Linked DNA regions of Homo sapiens: regions 1, 2 and 3 are each linked to region 4. The links are contacts of gene promoters, found by promoter capture Hi-C in blood cells and fetal thymus (Javierre and others, 2016). All regions are on one chromosome and are shown on one strand. Each heading gives the region's core, a stretch centred on a gene start or on the middle of the fragment in contact. The rest is flanking DNA. Distances are from core to core; before and after follow the strand shown. Region 1 overlaps CUBN (cubilin). Region 2 overlaps CUBN (cubilin). Region 3 overlaps CUBN (cubilin). Region 4 holds the start of VIM (vimentin).

Region 1 (3,485 bases), core at 232-2,731, 300 kb before region 4:
ATGGAAAATTTCACTTTGGTCACTAATTAGGTATGTGGCCTTGGAAAAGTCCAAGCCTCATTTTATTTATCTTTAAAATGGAAATAATGATACTTTACTTGAAAAGTAGTCACGATGAGATATTGAATGTATCAAATATAATAAGTACTTGAGAGTAGGCATTCTTATTAATTCTATTACTGTTGGTTCAGAAAAGAAAATTTTATATCAAAGAAGATCAAGCAATTGCAGGAAAAGCAGATATAATTCTCAGTGAAAATACTTACCTAAACTCTTTGCCTCATATTTGATTTTAAATCCTTGCCCTTCATTACTGTGATCAGAAATAAACTGAACAAACATTTGATTATCCGAGGTGAACAGAGTTGATGAAGCATGACTGCCACAAAAATGACCATTTCCTCCAGGGGGTCCCAAGGGTGGAGAACAGATATCAGGACCATTTCTTAGCTGGAAAGACAAATTAAAATTTCATCAACTCCTTTACATTGCAAAAGAAGGAGTACGCAATTCTTATCCATTTATGTCCCAGGAGAGAAAAATTATCATTTTGTTTTCTGAATGAAGTCTATGGAAAATGTAATTAGAAAGGGTAGCAGCAAGACCTACCACCAAGTAATCCCCCTGGTTGCAAGAAGAATCTCCATTTGGAATCTGGAAAGGCTGTTCAAAATGGACAGCAATGGTCAGGCCACTTTGGACCAGGACGTGCCAAGAACAGTTGAGGTTGGATGGGTAAGTCTCTGGATACTTGGGGGACGTGATGATCCCTCTGTCTGCATGCAAATATCCACCGCAGCCTTCCCACAAAGAAACAAAGGTCGGTTATTTAAATAGCATTGGCAACTGGATTTTTATGCTTTCTTAGTTTTCTTGGGGGGTTTTCAAAGTGGAGGCAATAAAAATGCTTGAAAATAAAGCCAGAGTGCAGGAAATGATTATCATAACAAGCATGTATTGAGCACATGCTATTGGCTACTCAGTTTGTGGTGGTCATTGAGATCTGGGATACAGAGGTAAGTAAACAAGACAAATTACCTGCTTTCATAAAGATTTCTTTATAGATGGGGAAGACATACAATAAACAAATACATGATATGTGAGATGGTGATAAATTCTATAAAGAAAAATGGATGAGAGGAGGGAGAAGGGTACTTTATTGTTAGAGTTAAGTTAGAAAAGCCACGTCATTGGAGTAACATCTTAGCAGAGACATGAATGAAATGAAGGATCAAGCCAGATAGTTATGGGGGAGAAAACATTCCAGTTCAGAAAACAGTGTAAAGGCTTGATGTGTTAGAGGTACATCATGGAAGTCAGAATGGATGAGGCAGAATGAGAGATTCCAAAGGTAGCATGGCTAGGTCATGCAGGAAACTGAAAAGACTTATTCTGAATAAGAAGAGGAAGATGTTGAAGGGTTTTGGGCATCAGAATGGCATGATCTCACTTAAGTTTGAAAATGTCACTCTATGTGCAGTCCTTAGACTGTAAGGGGTGGAGGACAGGGAAGGACAGGAGCAGAGTGTCCAATAAGGAGGGGACCGCCTGAGGCCAAGGAGAGATGATAGGTGCACGGGCTAGGCTGGTAGCAACAGAAATGGAGAGGCGTGGTTGGAATCTAGATACATTGTGAGGGTAGAGCCAGTGTGATTTGTTGATGGTTAAGTGTGAGACAAACAGAAAAGTCAAAAATAACATCAAGATTTTGACTTAAATAATGAGAAAAATGTACTTTCCATTTGCTGAGATTATGAGGAGTGTAGAATTGGGGGGTGGTGGCATGGAAAAGGGTGGGAATAAAGTGTTCAACTTTCAAAGGTGAAATTTTTTTTTCTATCTATCTATCTATCTATCTATCTATCTATCTAGTCTAATTGGGATACAAGTGGTTTTTCGTTACATGGATGAATTGCATACTGGTGAAGTCTATATTTTAGTGCACTGGTTCCCTGACTAGTATACATTACACCTAATATGTAGTTTTTTATCCCTCATACCCCACCCATCCTCCCCACTTCTGAGTCTCCAAAGTCCATTATACCACTCACAGGTTAAATTTGAAATACATTCTAGACCGGGAGCTGCCAAGTATGTATATATACATAGACACACACACATATTTATATATATTATATACATATATAAACACACATATTAATTCCAATGGTTCCACCCTTACTATATACATACATGTGTATACATGTATGTATGTATAATGAGTTGCGATACATAGTAATATATACATGAGAGTGAGAGGGCAGGAGATAAAGGAAGAGGATAAAAGGAGGAGGCATTAATTCTCCAGTTGTCAGGGACCAGAAGCTCATCAGTAAGGGCAGACATCTCACACAGCTAGTTAAATTGTAGAGGTGAAAATGTATCTTAGGTCTAGTTCCAAAGCCCATGCTCTTAAGCCACTATGCAGCCTGCCTCCCTTGAGCGTGAGGAACACAACTTATCTTCAGTTGCTCCCTACTTTATAAAAGGTATATATAAGCATGGAGGAAATATTAGATTAATTTTTAATGTTAGATTGAGAATCTACTTTAAAATTATGTTTTTTGATCAAAACATGAGAGTCTTTCACTCTTCCTTGGACTACTTTATCACCTTTCAGTTAGTTTGGATTTAAGGCTGTTACTGGACTTCACATGTCAAGTTTGAAAAGTCTCAATCATACTGTGCATGATGGTATCCCATATATGGTGCCCGCTTTTGACTCATCAAATTCATATTTCAAGAGCAACAAACTCTTCCTGCCAACCCTCAGATGGCTGACTTCAACCAAGTAATTTATGAGAATAAATGATGACGTTTTGCTCCTTCGATGAGTTATGGATATGAGCTGTGCTCTATCTAGTTCCAGCCCTCAGCTAGGCTGAAAAATTGCTTTAAAGCTCTCTCTCATGCATTCCCTGGACACACCTCCTTTGGAGCGAAGATGCCACACCAGAGACCTGAAGGCAGCACACTTTTGTACGACTTGGCCCCAGTGCTTTGGATGAGGACTCAGCACTGATGTAAGGGGAGCCAGCCATCCAGAGCCTGGGCAGAGACCCATGTCCTCTGACTTGTCTTGTGTCCTGGTGCCCAAAAACATTATATTAGGAAGAGAGAAAGAGAGAGGAAAAGAGAGGAGATGAGATAACATGGGATTAAAAAATATTTGAACTCATTACTCTTGTGAAAGGATGCATTGAAGCCTGCCCTGGTTACACTGGAGTCCGAGGTGAAGCGGATGAACATGTACTCTCCAGTAGACCGGATGGGCCCAGGGATCTCTCTGCCACAGAGAACTGCTAGCTGCTGGGCCAAGTTATTATCTCCTACGTTGAAAGAAAGGGAACAACATGAAAATACATCTTGAGAATCTACTCTACAATCATTTGCAGCTTAGCCAAAGCAGCTCACACATTTTTCTCAGAACATCAGGACTCGTAGGAGATAATGGGATCCTCAAAAAGAAGGACCCCTCAGGGGTG
Region 2 (3,623 bases), core at 713-3,212, 360 kb before region 4:
TTCTCCCACCTCAGCCTCCTGCGTAGCTGGGATTACAGGCACACACCACCATGCCCAGCTAATTTTTGTATTTTTGTAGAGATGGGGTTTCACCATGTTGGCCAGGCTGGTCTTGAACTCCTGACCTCAGGTGATCCACCCGCCTCAACCTCCCAAAGTGCTGGGTACATTTGTTGAGTGATTTTTTTACAACATTAAAATATGTCATACGTAAGTTTTAAAACCAAGCCCTTACATGGCATATTCTTCTAAGCTTCAAGGAAAAGCAATCATAATCAGGTGGGGGTGGGGGGGGGGCGGGGAAATTAAATAAAGCAGAAAGGTAACAGTCCTGACAAATAGATTTACAAGTCCAGAATTCTTACCCAATGTCTGCCGGAAAGACATCTTCCAGCCTTTTGCTGTCTGAAATGAATCTGTCTTGAACACCAGGAGCATACTATTATTGCTGCTCTTCACATTTGGTGGGCGCTTGGAACCGCAGAATTTGCCAAGAAGGGGATCGCTGGTATTGGCACCATCGTAAATTGCCAGGTAGTCATGGGAGCAGGAGGTGGAGGGAACCACATCAAAATCACTGAACCTGTGAAATGTACCTTGTTAATACTGATGTTTCCATTTGGACTTCTATTAAATTGTAGCTTTAGCTCTTGCAAAAAAAATGACAAGGAAAAAACTACCAGTAGAGCATTCAAAACTCACTTGATATGAAATATTAGAAATCAAACAGTACTTTACTGATCAGTTCAAAAGTTTAGCCAAATTTGTTTTTAGTAATTACAATACAACAAAAACTGTGACAGCAGCTGGGGATGTCAAAGTGAGTAAGATACAGTCTTACTTTTCAAGGAATTCACAGTCTAGGGCATATTAAAGTCCATCTGAGAACAACTTTTGACAAGTTGAACTGATATTTACTATCCCAGCAATACTTTAGTTTTTTAGGTCTCATTAAAAATACCATATTTACTCTTCCCTTGTTATTTTATGAGATGAAGTAGAACTTATGGGAAGCATGTTAATATAATAGAAGAAATGCTGCTTTTAGAATCACAGCTCCATTCTCCTCACAGTCTCATTTTCCTCTTTTAAAATGAAGTTTATGTTAAGGTCAGGTGAAGAACAGGAAATTTACATTTAAGACCTCTGTGGTGGTCACTGACACTTCTGCACATGGTCCCAGCTCTCTGCCTCCCCAGCACTGGTAGGATTGCCCTAGGGGCACACTTTGAGGCTTGACATGGCTGCTAGGAGTTGCTTTGACCACAGAAATGTAAGCAGAAGGGATACATATTACTTTACGGAAGAAGCTTTACAAATGACTACTTGCTTTGCCACACTGCCTTCCCACTGCAGTGATGATCATGGAAGCAAATGTAAAAACGAAGCTTCCATCAGCCTGGGTTGTTGGATGACCACGATGAGCAGAGCTTCCATGCCAGGCCACACTGAACATGCTCATTACAATGAGAAATCAACTTGTTGAGTTAAGCTGCTGTGAGGTGGAGTTGTTTGTTACTATGTGCATAACCTATCCTGACAGATGCATCCCTAACTTTTCTCTGTCTTATACAGTGTTTAATTCAGGTCTTATTCTTTGTCATTTCAAATAACGATTTCTAGAGTTCCTGAACAAGCAAGGCTTCTTACATGGATTTACTTTAGAGTTTTGTGGTGGGTTTATTATAGCTTATTTTTAAAACTTGTTTAAAAAAATAATATTTGATATCCTGTCCTCATTTTTATAGGTTCTTCTGCTTTTTCTTTTTTTTTTTGAGACAGAGTCTCACTCTGTTGCACAGGCTGGAGTGCAGTGGCACAATCTCAGCTCACTGCAACCTCTGCCTCCCTGGTTCAAGTGATTCTCTTGCCTCACCCTCCCGAGTAGCTGGGATTACAGGTGTCCACCACCATGCCTGGCTATTTTTTTTAATTACATGTATATTTTTTAGTAGAGATGAGGTTTCTGCCATGTTGGCCAGGCTGGTCTTGAACTTCTGACCTCAGGTGACCTGCCTGCCTCAGCCTCCCTGTGCTGGGATTACAGGCATGGGACACCATGCCCAGCCTGCATTTTCAATTTATTTTGGCAGTAGCTCTAATAAACAATCCATAATATGGAATAATTTTGAAAATATAGACTAAATAATATATATTTATATATAAAATATATAATAAATGCTTCCTTTCAACAGCCTTGAGAAAAAAAATTGTTGGTTTTTTTTCTAAAAGGTTTTGGTTGGTTGAAGGTTTTCAGACTGATGAGGAACAAGATGAAAACCGTATTGATTTTCTTTTACCACATTTAACATTTAATGTTATTGTAAAAGATCAGGGAAGAACAATAGCTAGATAATTTCCAACAACACTGTATTCATTTTAATTCTCTACAGACAACACATTTATTTTTCACAAAAAGAATCCACAAAGAGAGATAAAATCTGAGTTTCTAAGAGGACTTAAATCTGCTTTGGCTTTTTATTTTACATCATTTTCCCAGGAGAGCACAGAAGAGATCTGAAAAGCCCATTGACAGAAAAGCTTGTGTAACCACAATCTTTTGAGAGCCTTTTATTAATGTCTGCATCTTCTACCACACCTAGAATCTTATCTGTTTCCTAGAATGTAGGCTCTTAGTGCGCAATAAATAATTTTCTAAACCTGCAGATGTAGGCTGGGTGTGGTGGCTCACACCTGCAATCCCAGCACTTTGGGAGGCCGAGGCAGGTGGACCACTTGAGGTCAGGGATTCAAGACCAGCCTGGCCAACATGGCAAAACTCCATCTCTACTAAATATATATATATATACAAAAGAAAAAATTACCCAGGCTGGTGGCACACACCTGTAGTCCCAGCTACTCAGGAGGCTAAGGTGGGAGAATCGCTTGAACCCAGCAGGTGGAGGTTGCAGTGAGCTGAGATCACGCCACTGCACTCCAGCCTGGGCGACAGAGTGAGAGCTAGTCTCAAATAAATAAATAAGTAAAATAAAATAAACATGCAGATGTAAATTTCATTATGGTGAGCTCCAGGATCCAGGCTGAAAACTGAAAAAATACATTTAGATTGTATACATACATATATATATAGATAGATAGACAGATAAAGAGAGAGAGAATATATAACATACCTCTATGAGTTGGTATGTATACCATGGTTGGAATGTTTGTGTTCCCCTAAATTCATATGTTCCCTAAGCTAATGGTATAGGAAGTGGGGCCTATGGGAGGTGATTAGGTCATGGGGGAGGACCCCTCACAAATGGGATTAGTGTTTTATAAGAGGCCCTTCCAGCTCATGAAGACACAGCAAGAAGGTACCTTCTATAAGCCAGAAAACAGGAGCTCACCAGACAACGAATCTGCCTCGACCTTGGACTTTTGCAGCCTTTTGTTGTTTATAAGCCACCCAGTTTATGATATTTTGTTAAAGCAACCTGAACAGAACAAGGCAATAATCAATCCTACACATATGAGAAACAAATAGTGAGTCACAGTAGCAAATGGCTCCCCCTTACACTTTCACGCCTGTGCAGGCATACTTCACAGAACTCCTGCTCCTGGCCATCTGACAGTTTCTGTTCTTTTGTCCCCAAGACCTAAAAGACACTCTGTTTTCCTAC
Region 3 (3,297 bases), core at 353-2,852, 260 kb before region 4:
ACTCCAGCCTGGGCAACAAGAGTGAAACTCCATCTCAAAAAAAAAAAAAAAATCAAAGTGGCTCCAGCCTGACCCTAAATTTATTTTCTCCCTCTATTTTTCTAGTCTGCCATTCCGTATCCTGTACATAACTGCAATTTTTATATTTTACCAAAATACTTATTCACTTCGTAGGAAGCATAAGGCTTTCGTTTTAGTGCTGATCCTGCTGTTAATTTCTACTTAGCCTTGACCCTGACATTTCTGGATCTCAGTATCTTTTTTATTTTTTAATTAATTTTTATTTTTTGCACTGCCCCACCTCCACCTCAATGTCTTTTTTTAAAAAATTAGGTGACAACAGCAAACGAACTCTAAGCTTTCTTCTTCCAACCTTAACATTCTATGTATCTATAGGTTTATGACAGTTAATCATATGTGAAATCATATTTAACATACAGCTAAATTACTATTTCTTCTTCTAACAACCCAAATTGTTATAGAAGTTTTGAAAAAACAGGATGGCTGGTCCCATTCCAGCATAATTTTCACTGGTATTTAAAGAGTACACTTGAACTCTGTTAAAAATCTCCTGAACCCCAACATTATCTGACAGCATCACTGGCAACTGAATATTTTTCTCTTTGCTAATAACTCTGTCTAAGCAACAGGACCAGGACATTAACTTGAATGTCTCCAAAATGAAGGATTGGCTTTATATGAACTGAGACTGCAGAGATATTATGTAAGATGTTGGACTTTGGGGTACGTTTCCCGTCCAGTGTCCATCTGGCTGTAAAGATAGAGGGCTGGTGCTTCAACTCCGGCCTTCATGAATCCCTGGACAACTAACTAACAAGCTTCCAGCCTTGCCAGGGCATTGCCTGGTCTGGTTCCAAACCTCTGCAGACCTCCTGTCCCCTTAAGTGGGCACATTTGGCAAATATATAGCAGATCTCTACCCCAACTTACCTGGACAGTCTTGTTTTCTTTTAAAACTTCCTTATCTTTTTGTAAAGTTGATTTATAAATCATCCAAGAAAAAATGACTTAGTTTGTATACAATTTATGCAATTTTTAACATAATGAATTTATAAATCAGAAAAATCTTGTGCCAAGCCATGGGTTTCAATTTCTTATTCTAAAAAGTACAACATTCATAGAACCAATCTGGCGCTTCTTGGTGTCTCTGTCCTGAAAACATGATTTTCTCTACTGTTCGCCTGGCTCTCACATTCAGCTGCTCTTTTTCCACCTGCCCTCTTCACACAACTTATATTTCTCCATTTTTTTTAAAAAACCAACTCTCCACTGATTTTGGTTAACCCATTGGTTACTGCCCATTTTCTCCTTATGCCACTCATTTCCGTAACTCTGGGGAAAAGCTCAGAAGCTCCTGCACCTCCTAACCACTGTGACCTTGAGTCTTCCACCACCACCCGCCACAATCCTGCTCCTTGCAGGTTATTAAAGACGGAATCCAGGGGCTTTGTTGCAATCCTCACGCTCGTTGGCATCCTGCATGGGATTTGATACCTTTGATCACCCACCCTTGAAATTCAGCTTCCCTCGTGGTTTGAATGCTACCACTCTCTTCTGGTTCTCCACCAAGCACTCAGCGCACCTCCTCAGCCTCCTCTCCTCTGATCTTTCATCCACCCGTTACATGGCAGTGTTTCCCCAGGAGTTGGCTTGGCCCCTTTCTCTTGGTAAAATACTCCTAAAAGTGATCATACCTACTCCCACAACTTTAATAACCACCCAATATACAGAAATTATCCTCAATTGTATATGTCTAGCTCAGATCCTATCCCAAGCTCTGAACTCTTATGTCAAACTATATAATATTTAAACCCAAAAGTTTACAAGTCAAACTCACTATCATCTACTCCCTTTACTCAGTTAATGGCCTCATCATTCACAATTTTTTTTTTTTTTGAAACAGGGTCATGCTGTCACCCAGGCTGGAGTACAGTGGTGTGATCACAGCTCACCGCAGCCTCGACCTCCCATGCTCAAGCCATCCTCCCACCTCAACCTCCTGAGTTACTGGGAATACAGGTATGTGCCACTTGGCCAGGCTAATTTTTTAATTTTTTTGCAGAGATGGGGTCCAGGCTGGTGTCAAACTCCTGAGCTCAAACAATTCTCCTGTCTCGGCCTCCCAAAGTGCTGGAATTACAGGTATGAGCCATCACTCCCGGCCATTCATTCATTCTTCAAGCAAATAGGCTTCCCCCCACCATCTCTATCACCAGCCCCACCCACCACCATGTAATTAGCCTCTAATTCTAGTGACTGCCACCGTGACAGTTCTCCACGTGTCCCTGCGCTCTCCATGTGTCCCAAGACCACTGCCTACTATGAGACCTTATCACCTCTGATCCAAGCTTTTTCCATTGCTTCCCAAACAGACATGCTACCATCTTTCTTTTTCTCTGCCAAGCCATTCTTCACACACTGCTGCCTGTTGTCACTGTAGAATACAGCTCTGAGTATGTTATTCCCGTTTTACAGAAAATTTTCACTGACTCCATACTACCTATAGGATAATTTCAAATTCTTAACTGGAGCAGAAGAGAGCTCAGATGTCTTCTGTAGCCCCTTGGTCTCCACATGCTCCCCGGCATTTCTTCACGCTCCAGGGACAACACTCTCATTTTTTATTCCCAAATGTGCGTGCACCATTTCCCCATCCTTCCCTTGCAGCCTCCCCTCGTGGCCTCACTGCTGCATTTCTACTGGCGAGACTCTGCCACTTAAATGTCGCCTCCAGTGTGAACGCTTCCCTGGCTTCCAGGCCCAAATGAATGATGTCGGCCATTTTCACAATGATTCCAGAGCACTGAGCCCTAGATATGCTAAATCCTAGGTGCTATACTACGAGGAAGATTCGAAAGTGGGCTCTTCTGCTTAAGAGCTTGAGGCCCAGAATTACAGACGGCAAGTCCTGACCCTGACTTCTTTTTCTAAAAACCTTTCACCTTAGGTTCAAGGGTCCATGTGCAGGTTTGCTATAGAGGTAAATTGCCTGTCATGGGGGTTTGGTGTACAGTCTATTTTGTCACCCAGGTAATGAGCAAAGAACGTGATGGGTGGTTTTCAACTTGCTCCCTCCTCCCAGCTTCCAACCTCAAGTAGGCCCTGGCGCCTGTTGTTCCCTTCTTTGTGTCCATATGTACTCAGTGTTTAGCTCCCACTCCTGAGTGAGAACATGCAGTATTTAGTTTTCTGTTCCTGTGTTACTTCATTTAGGATTATGGCCTCCAGCTCCATCCATGTTGCTGAAAAGGACATGGTCTTGTTCATTCTTGTGGC
Region 4 (3,649 bases), core at 1,150-3,649:
GCTAGATGCTGTTCTCTTGGCATGGCTAGCCAGCTTTCCCAAAGCCTCCATAGGCCACTAAGCTTCTGTCCACACGGCTGGCTGGTCCGTCAGTTTAAGTCACCCAATTCAACTGACATCATGACAGCTTGCAAATTCCAAAATCACTGTTGGTAATTTAGATGTGGTAGTGTTTATGCCTGGCCTATGAATTATACCACCACGTCTTTATTTATATGCAACTTGCATCATGCTGTGTTGAAAGCAGCTTCCCAGTCCAGCACTTGAAAATACTTCTCAGATAGGTTTTCATAGCAATTAAAAAATAAACACAAAACCCGGGAAAGCTATGTCTGTGTACCCAAAAGATACCTAAGAACACAGTAGCATAGAGAGCAGGCTGAGTTGTCTCACTCAAGGATGTGAGTTCAGATTCATTGATCTCCCTGACTGAAAACTATCACCCATTGATTGAGGCACTGTATATCTTATCTCAGAATGAAATGAATTCTTAAGTCTCATGAATTCTACATGAATGAATGAAAGTGTTTCTGCAACTTTCACTTCTCTTGCAGCCCACCAAAAACAATGGCATTTTCTAATAGGAAAAACACATTGAACGCTGTATATGTGCGTATGTATATGTGTGTGTAGTACATACATATACTTTATTTTGAGACAGGTTCTCACTCTGTTGCACAGGGTGGAGTGCAGTGGTGTGCACAGCCTACTGCAGCCTCAATTTCCCAGGCTCAAGCAATCCCCCTGCCTTAGTCTCCCAAGTAGCTGGGACCACAGGTGTGCACCATCACGCCTGGCTTTTTTTGGTTTCATATATATATGTTGCCTAAGCTGGTCTCAAACTCCTGATCTCAAGCAATCCTCCTGCTTTGGCCTCCCAAAGTGCTGGGACTACAGAACACCTACACTTTTATACATTCTATATGCATCAAACAAACATATGTCTGTGACAAGAGAGCAGCCTATCACAGCCCAGAGACTTCAGAATGGGGACAGGTTGGAAGGAGGAGCTACCTATCCCTGAGATGATGAAGAGGACCAGTGCCCATTCCAGGAGACATCACCGCAGCCCTGAGGAATCGGCTATGGGCACCAGCAGGGCACAGTGCCACACCTCGCCAATGCCTTGTCCTCCTTTTCCATAGTGAGTCAGTCAGCAAGCGTCGCATTGCCCTGGGATCGGCACTGCACGTAGAAGTGAGTTCCACACTCTCTTCCTCCCATAGGGAGATCACTTTTCTCATTCTAAGGGTTCCAGGCACACTCACAATGGTGGCATTTGCTGAGCAGTGGCTTGAATAAAGGGCTCTCAGAAAGCAAGATGTAACTCAGAGCATAGGCTTGTCCTCCAGGGCACCCAGCCCCAGGAATGCTCTTGGGGAATGACCTGCAGCCTCCCAGTGAAAGAGAGAATAAAAGAAAGCCCCAGCAGGCGAGCTGGGCAGTAGAGAGTCCTGTAATTCCACCTTGGCAAGCACCATTTGCAAGAACGAACTGGGATAAGGTAAACAAAATATTGCCTAAAAGAGGCTTGTCCAAAGAAGTCAGAATACGCTCTTCATTTACCTCTAAATTATGTTTCTTAAATACCAAGTAACCTGCAGTACCCCCTGCCGCCACCAAAAAAAAAGAGAGAAATACTTTTTTTTCTCCTATCCACTGCAGAATCAATTTTACAGTGGTTCTGCAGTTAATCCTTTCAGTACACCATAAATCTAAATACTCAAAAAAACCTGTGCCTTTTCAATTGCTACTAAATCACGAGAAGACTGATTTACATAGTCTCCTTTTATCTCCCTTGGCGGGTAAGTACTCAGCTCTGCTCGTTACTAATATTGAAACAACAGCCCTTGAATTGAGTGATTTCCCTAGAAAGGTTAAGGTGACCGAATCTGAACACTCCCTCCATGTCTTGGACACGAAGTTTTTTGCTGCGTAGACAGTTTTATCCCCCTCACCCCAAGGTCAATTGCACGAATTCTTTTGGAAAACAGGACCTATGGCATTTCCCAGACAAATCACCGTGAACCCTGTACTGTGCATTGCTGTCCTAAAATTAACACATAAATCTATTGCCGCCAAAGATTCTGTCATTTGTGTTACATAATTGCCTTTCATTTGAACTCATTAATCAAATTGGGGTTTTTAAGCAACACCTAATTAATTCTTTAACTGGCTCATATTATACCTTTAATGACTTCCACCAGGGTAAAAACCACTGATCACTGAGTTCTATTTTGAAACTACGGACGTCGAGTTTCCTCTTTCACCCAGAATTTTCAGATCTTGTTTAAAAAGTTGGGTGTGGTTTCATGGGGGGAGGGGGAAGAGCGAGAGGAGACCAGAGGGACGGGGGCGGGGACTCTGCAAGAAAAACCTTCCCGGTGCAATCGTGATCTGGGAGGCCCACGTATGGCGCCTCTCCAAAGGCTGCAGAAGTTTCTTGCTAACAAAAAGTCCGCACATTCGAGCAAAGACAGGCTTTAGCGAGTTATTAAAAACTTAGGGGCGCTCTTGTCCCCCACAGGGCCCGACCGCACACAGCAAGGCGATGGCCCAGCTGTAAGTTGGTAGCACTGAGAACTAGCAGCGCGCGCGGAGCCCGCTGAGACTTGAATCAATCTGGTCTAACGGTTTCCCCTAAACCGCTAGGAGCCCTCAATCGGCGGGACAGCAGGGCGCGGTGAGTCACCGCCGGTGACTAAGCGACCCCACCCCTCTCCCTCGGGCTTTCCTCTGCCACCGCCGTCTCGCAACTCCCGCCGTCCGAAGCTGGACTGAGCCCGTTAGGTCCCTCGACAGAACCTCCCCTCCCCCCAACATCTCTCCGCCAAGGCAAGTCGATGGACAGAGGCGCGGGCCGGAGCAGCCCCCCTTTCCAAGCGGGCGGCGCGCGAGGCTGCGGCGAGGCCTGAGCCCTGCGTTCCTGCGCTGTGCGCGCCCCCACCCCGCGTTCCAATCTCAGGCGCTCTTTGTTTCTTTCTCCGCGACTTCAGATCTGAGGGATTCCTTACTCTTTCCTCTTCCCGCTCCTTTGCCCGCGGGTCTCCCCGCCTGACCGCAGCCCCGAGACCGCCGCGCACCTCCTCCCACGCCCCTTTGGCGTGGTGCCACCGGACCCCTCTGGTTCAGTCCCAGGCGGACCCCCCCCTCACCGCGCGACCCCGCCTTTTTCAGCACCCCAGGGTGAGCCCAGCTCAGACTATCATCCGGAAAGCCCCCAAAAGTCCCAGCCCAGCGCTGAAGTAACGGGACCATGCCCAGTCCCAGGCCCCGGAGCAGGAAGGCTCGAGGGCGCCCCCACCCCACCCGCCCACCCTCCCCGCTTCTCGCTAGGTCCCTATTGGCTGGCGCGCTCCGCGGCTGGGATGGCAGTGGGAGGGGACCCTCTTTCCTAACGGGGTTATAAAAACAGCGCCCTCGGCGGGGTCCAGTCCTCTGCCACTCTCGCTCCGAGGTCCCCGCGCCAGAGACGCAGCCGCGCTCCCACCACCCACACCCACCGCGCCCTCGTTCGCCTCTTCTCCGGGAGCCAGTCCGCGCCACCGCCGCCGCCCAGGCCATCGCCACCCTCCGCAGCCATGTCCACCAGGTCCGTGTCCTCGTCCTCCTACCGCAGGATGTTCGGCGGCCCGGGCACCGCGAGCCG

What was found. The method cuts DNA at HindIII sites, captures the fragments that hold promoters and counts their contacts. A CHiCAGO score of 5 or more calls a contact.
Region 1: a contact is called between a fragment that was not itself captured here and the fragment with the promoter of VIM in region 4, in 14 of 17 cell types (activated CD4 T cells, naive CD8 T cells, M2 macrophages and 11 more). The highest score is 18.2, in activated CD4 T cells.
Region 2: a fragment that was not itself captured here is called in contact with the fragment with the promoter of VIM in region 4 in 15 of 17 cell types (activated CD4 T cells, M0 macrophages, total CD8 T cells and 12 more); the score reaches 23.8 in activated CD4 T cells.
Region 3: a contact is called between a fragment that was not itself captured here and the fragment with the promoter of VIM in region 4, in 10 of 17 cell types (endothelial precursors, activated CD4 T cells, M0 macrophages and 7 more). The highest score is 12.2, in endothelial precursors.

The regions. Positions count from the first base shown.
Region 1 is chr10:16,924,975-16,928,459 of GRCh38, forward strand. CUBN (cubilin) reads right to left here. Exons shown (of 67, transcript NM_001081.4): 41 at 3,183-3,329; 42 at 610-800; 43 at 267-450. Among named protein-coding and RNA genes, the nearest start is that of RSU1, 110 kb to the left of the region's middle. The HindIII fragment of the contact is 5,679 bases long and covers 1-3,485 here.
Region 2 is chr10:16,869,271-16,872,893 of GRCh38, forward strand. CUBN (cubilin) reads right to left here. Exons shown (of 67, transcript NM_001081.4): 59 at 366-583. Among named protein-coding and RNA genes, the nearest start is that of RSU1, 54 kb to the left of the region's middle. The HindIII fragment of the contact is 1,153 bases long and covers 1,387-2,539 here.
Region 3 is chr10:16,970,541-16,973,837 of GRCh38, forward strand. All of the region lies in intron 31 of CUBN (cubilin), which reads right to left. Among named protein-coding and RNA genes, the nearest start is that of RSU1, 150 kb to the left of the region's middle. The HindIII fragment of the contact is 1,530 bases long and covers 838-2,367 here.
Region 4 is chr10:17,225,842-17,229,490 of GRCh38, forward strand. It overlaps VIM (vimentin), which reads left to right and starts at 2,400. Exons shown (of 10, transcript NM_003380.5): 1 at 2,400-2,683; 2 at 3,435-3,649. The coding sequence starts at 3,582. It overlaps VIM-AS1 (VIM antisense RNA 1), which reads right to left. Exons shown (of 3, transcript NR_108061.1): 1 at 3,504-3,649. RefSeq lists a silencer at 879-1,093. The HindIII fragment of the contact is 5,594 bases long and covers 61-3,649 here.